Linked DNA regions of Homo sapiens: region 1 is linked to region 2. Evidence: promoter capture Hi-C in 16 types of primary human blood cells and fetal thymus (Javierre and others, 2016). All regions are on one chromosome and are shown on one strand. Each heading gives the region's core, a stretch centred on a gene start or on the middle of the fragment in contact. The rest is flanking DNA. Distances are from core to core; before and after follow the strand shown.

Region 1 (2,700 bases), core at 115-2,614, 120 kb before region 2:
ATTTTTATATGATATAGGCCCCATATTTATGTATGTATGTATGTATTTGTATATACAGTTCGTATACTTTCTGTTAAAATCAGTCAAGAGAAGAATGTATAAAAATATTCAATTATACTCTCTTTTGTAATTTTTACATGTTATTCAAATTATTATTTGATGGTACCTGTTTCAGCTTTAAGAACATCCTTTATTATGTCTATTATTTCTTATAAGTCAGGTTGGGTGAATTCTGTTAGTTTTTGTTCATCTGAGAAAGTCTTTACTTAGCCTTGATCATGAATAGTAATTTTGATGGATAGGAGATTCTTGGTTGACAGTTTTTCCACTTTCAGCACTTAGAATATACGCTCTCACTGCCTTCTTGCCTCTATTGTTACTAATGAGAAGTCAGTTGTTATTCTAACTGGTGTTCCTGTGTTCATAATGAGTCTTTTTTTTCCTGCTTTCAAGATTTTCTCTTTGTCTTTGTCTTTCAAAATTTTAATTATGATTTTAACTATAATATGTCTGGCTGTGTGGATCCCTCTGTATTTATGCTATTTGGAGTTCATTAAGCTTCTTAGCTGTATAGATGGCTTTTCATTAAATTTAGTAAGTTTTCCACCATTATTTCTTTGGCTATTTTTTTCTATTCCTTTTTCTCCTCTCTTTCTGATGCTCTCATTACCCATATGTTGTGCTTAATGGTATCCCATATTTCTTTCAGGTTCTGTTTATTTATTTATTTATTTGAGACAGAGTTTCACTCTTGTCACCCAGGCTGGAGGGCAATGGTGCGATCTTGGCTCACTGCAACTTCTGCCTCCCAGGTTCAAGCAATTCTCTTGCCTCAGCCTCCCAAGTAGCTGGGATTACAGGCGCCTGCCACCATGCCTGGCTAATTTTTGTATTTTTAGTAGAGACGGGGTTTCACCATGTTGGCCAGGCTGATCTCAAACTCCTTACTTCAAGTGATCCACCCCTCTTGGCCTCCCAAAGTGCTGAGATAACAGGCATGAGCCACTGCCCCCGGCCTGTTTATTTATTTTCATTCTTTTTTTCTTTCTGTTTTCAGACTGCACAATCTCTATCAATCTGTCATTAAGTTTGCTGATTCTTTCTTCTGCTAGCTCAATTTACTGTTGAGCCACTTTAGTGAATTTTTCATTTCAGTTATTATACTTTTCAACTCCAAAAGTTCCATTTGGTTATTTTGTAAAACAATTTCTATCTCTTTATTGATATTCTCTATTCAATTAGATGTTGTCATCATACCTTCCTTTAATTCATTAACCATGATTTCCTTTAGTCTTCTATACAGATTTATAATAGCTGCTTTAAAGTCTGCTAAGACTACCATCTGGCTCATTCAAAAGTGGTTTCTATTGTCTTCTTCTTCCCCTATGTATGGGTCACACTTCCCTCTTTCTTTGAAATTCTGCTATGCTCTACAAGTGGACACAGGTGGAGGTGGCGCCATGGTCTTCTCAGTTTTCCTCTCCCACCATAGATCCCTACTCTATGAGCCAGCTTGGGTAGGGTTGATTGGGATCCCAGAATTCTCAGCCTGAAGTGCCTAAGTTAGAGCTACTACCCTACAAGTGGAGGGGTGGTGGGTAAGAGAGAGCTGGTCCTCTTTGCTGAGCCCACCTGGAATAGGGCTTCTGCTATACAGGACTGCAGAAGGTTGAGAAATATCAGTGGCCTTCCCCTCCCAAAATGAAACAAACCATAGCCCCAAACTGGGGCACAGGATAAAGAGAGTGCCCATCTTCTTGGCAACACATATGGGTAGATCTTCTATAAAACAGATTTGGGGATGGATAATGAAGGGGGTCATGGCTGAAATGTCACAGAGACTCTCATTTCTTACCTAGATTCAAATTTTCTTAAGTAATTGTTTCTTCATTTGCTATATGCTCTTATGACCATTAACAGAGACTTCAAACAATTTTTTAAAATATTTTCACTGGTTAATTTCTGTTTTACTGAAAAGAGTATCTACCAACCTCCCTCCTCTGTTGTTATGGAAGTCCTTCCTCCCCTCTGCTTTGTCATGAATACATTCATGCATTTTCTACCTACCTTAAAATAAATTAGCTCTAGTAGTGGAGAAATGTGGAAAAGAGCATTCTTAAAGTGTTGTATTATTTATTCATTATCTTTGTATCCATAAACACAAGCTTTGTCCATATGAATAAGTTAGAATATTTGTAATTCATTCTACCAGAATGAATCTGAAGTTGTGGCTGGTAGAGAGGAGGAAAAAAAGAAACCCTTTGATATATTTTCAGCCACAAGAATGTTTTGCACACCAGGAGCCAGCAGGTAAAGGAAAGGTTTGGGGTATGGGATTCAGGCATTTAAACAAACAGGGAGATGGCTGGAAATGGGACTACAAGCTCTTAAAATGATGCAGAGGGAAGTATAGGTCAGGAGAAGAAAGGTGCAAGTGAATAGCTAACTTATGAACAATTACTTCCTCAGTTCTAAGAGCTTTACCTGTCAGTACATATGTAACCCTCACAACAATGAATTATGAGACAGGCACTATTTTTTGGAAACTGAGGAACAGAGGGGTTAAGTAACTTGCCCAAGTTGATAGCTAGTGCCACCCCTGCTCTTCACTACCTTGTCCTCCAGCTTAGGGGAGGGAGTTTTTCATGCTTACAGTTCCTTAGTGTGGCTGACCTTGCAGGTGAGATGACCTAATACCTA
Region 2 (2,742 bases), core at 58-2,557:
AGTCCTTATTTTTAAAATTGGAATTTTCTATAAAAGTTCAGAATGTTTTTAATTTAAAGTTGTTTTAAGCACAAAGTAATACAATTTATCCATGAAGGTTAAACATTTTAATTTTTATCATTAACTTTTATTTGTAATTGTTTTCTACCTTTTAAATTAAATATTCGTTACAAATTTAATTGAGAAGAGGGAAGGAGGGGGAGAATGAATGAGTGGATTCTTATAGTTTGAGGGGGTAAGACCTCCATTTTTATACTATTTTTTTGTTTTGTTTTTATTTTTATTTTTGAGGCAGAGTCTTGCTCTGTTGCCCAGGCTGGAGTGCAGTGACCGAATCTTGGCTCACTGCAGCCTCAACCTCCCAGGTTCAAGCGATCCTCCCACCTCAGCCTCCCGAGTAGCTGGGACTACAGGTGCGCACCACCACGCCTGGCTAATTTTTGTATTTTTAGTAGAGATAGAGTTTTGCCATGTTGGCCAGTCTGATCTCGAACTCCTGGACTCAAGTGATCTGCCCGCCTTTGGCCTCCCAAAGAGTTGGGATTATAGGCGTGAGCCACTATGCCTGGGCTACTTTTTTACTTTCACTTTTCTAAAATGCTCTCAAAGAGCTGTTGTTGCCGTTTATACTTAAAACTCCCAGTTTTACTTCGCCCAAACCAATCCTGGGCAGGCAGCAGGAGTGGACACACATACTGCAATACTCCAGGGCTGCAGCATCAGACCCAGAGGAGGAGGGAACTGCTGGATTAATAACGCGGAGGAGGAGGAGGGGTATGAGTCTATTCCAAAATTGGCCTTTGCCCTTCAAAGAGGAAAAGACCACTTATTGTTTGTGCAATCAAAAGGTTTGTTTCCTAGATATTTTCCCCAGGAGAAAAAAGTTTCCCAGGAAACCGAGAAAGAAATTATAACGAAAATAGCTATTGGATGAATTTTTTCCTCAAGCTTCATTTTTACATCATTATAATATTTGTGCTGTAATGAAGGTTGGGAGTCCTCTGGGGCAGACCAGTCTATTTGGGAGGATATGTATGGAGTTTGTGTGTGAGTACATGCGGGTGAGTGGGCGTGAGTGTGGAAAGTATGTGTGTGGAACCTCTGTGTGTGTGGAATGTGGAGCGTATGCACAATGTGTGTGGAGTTTGGAGTGTGTGTGTGGACGAGTGAGTGTGGAAGTGTGGACGTGTGTGGAAAGTGCACAGTGCGTGCGGAGTTTGGGGTGTTTGTGCACGCGCGTGTGTGGCAGGTCCTGGAGCGCGTCCACGCGACACCCCATGTGTAGTGTGCGCGCGCGCGCGCCCCCGCGCCGCCCCTTCGGCCCGGCCCTGTGTGCGGCGGCTGCTGCCGGGCCGGGCGGCGGGAGCGCGCGGCGTCGGAGGCCGCCCCTCTGCGGAACGCCGAGAGCCCCGGGAGAGTGAAGGGCCGGGGAGGACAAGGCGCCCCGGGCCCAAAGCGCGCCGGCTCCCGCTCGGGCGGCCGCGGACATGTGCAGGATGTCCTTCAAGGTGAGCGACCGGGACTCCGGGGTCAGGGCTGGGGCCGGGCTCGGGCGGCCGGGCCCGCGGGGTCGGGTGGGGTGGGATGGGGTGGGATGGGGTGGGCGCTGCCCGCTGCCCGCCGCCTCCTCCTTCCTCTCTCCTCCAGCTGCGGGCGAGGCCCGGGAGGAAGCGGCGGGGCTGGGTGCGCCCTGTGGGTTTGCGGTTTGCCTGCCTGCCCTGCCTGAGAGGCTTCGCACTCATGGCTGTGGATCGGCTGAGTCTGTGCCCGGCGACGGGGCGGCGGGGACTGTCGCCGGGTAACAGGTCGGGGGCGGGTAAGAAGCCTGGGGTCAGCGCTGTCCTGCAGCAGAAGGAGTCCCCGACCCTGACCCTCTGGGTCCTCATGCAGGAGTACCAGCTGCACCCACGGATGCCTCCTCCCCGGAGGGGTGGCCAGCACCCAGGGAGGCTTCAGGGTCCAAAGGTGTCTTGTCTCAAAAGAGTTGATTAAAGTCATTCCATCTAATCCCCACATTTTAGGATGAAAGAGGTTGATTTGCCTCGATTGAAAGGGTTTAATAAAAATAGCAGTTAAAATGTATTAAACAGTTCAAATGTGCCTGACTCTGAACCAAGGACATGGTGTGTATGGTCTCAACCCTGGGGGAGACCTGTGGGAGGTGCTCTTCGTGGCTCTTTTTTTTTTTTTTTTCAAATGAGAAAACTAAGATATAGAGAAATTAACTCACCCACGGTTTTGCAGCCAATAAGTTATGGTGTTAAGACTGAAACCCAAGTGTGTCTGACTCCTAAGCCACTGTAATCCCGTTGCCGACAATAGCTCATGTAAGCAGAGGAGTGACATGGCGAGATGTGCATGTTGCAAAGATCTCTGGCTAGGTTTGGAGAAGAGGGTTGGAGCTGGAAGATGTTGTCATCTTTTTAAGAAATGGTACTGGACCAGTGCATAGGTGGTGAGAATGGAACGAAGCAGACGAATGTGAATGACTTTAAAGTTTTTTTTCCTGAGACGGAGTTTTGCTCTTGTTGCCCAGGCTGGAGTGCAATGGTGTGATCTCAGCTCACTGCAACTTCCGCCTCCCGGGTTCAAGCTATTTCTCCTTCCTTACCCTCCAGAGTAGCTGGGATTACAGGCGTGCGCCACCATGCCCAGCTAATTTTTTCGTATTTTTAGTAGAGACGGGGTTCTGCCATGTTGGCGAGGCTGGTCTCGAACTCCTGACCTCAGGTGATCCACCCT

Evidence for each region. The method cuts DNA at HindIII sites, captures the fragments that hold promoters and counts their contacts. A CHiCAGO score of 5 or more calls a contact.
Region 1: a fragment that was not itself captured here is called in contact with the fragment with the promoter of ANKRD29 in region 2 in 2 of 17 cell types (M1 macrophages and M0 macrophages); the score reaches 5.1 in M1 macrophages.

Annotation. Positions count from the first base shown.
Region 1 is chr18:23,785,317-23,788,016 of GRCh38, reverse strand. All of the region lies in intron 12 of LAMA3 (laminin subunit alpha 3), which reads right to left. Among named protein-coding and RNA genes, the nearest start is that of LAMA3, 97 kb to the right of the region's middle. The HindIII fragment of the contact is 1,607 bases long and covers 561-2,167 here.
Region 2 is chr18:23,661,476-23,664,217 of GRCh38, reverse strand. It overlaps ANKRD29 (ankyrin repeat domain 29), which reads left to right and starts at 1,307. Exons shown (of 10, transcript NM_173505.4): 1 at 1,307-1,508. The coding sequence starts at 1,488. The HindIII fragment of the contact is 8,557 bases long and covers 951-2,742 here.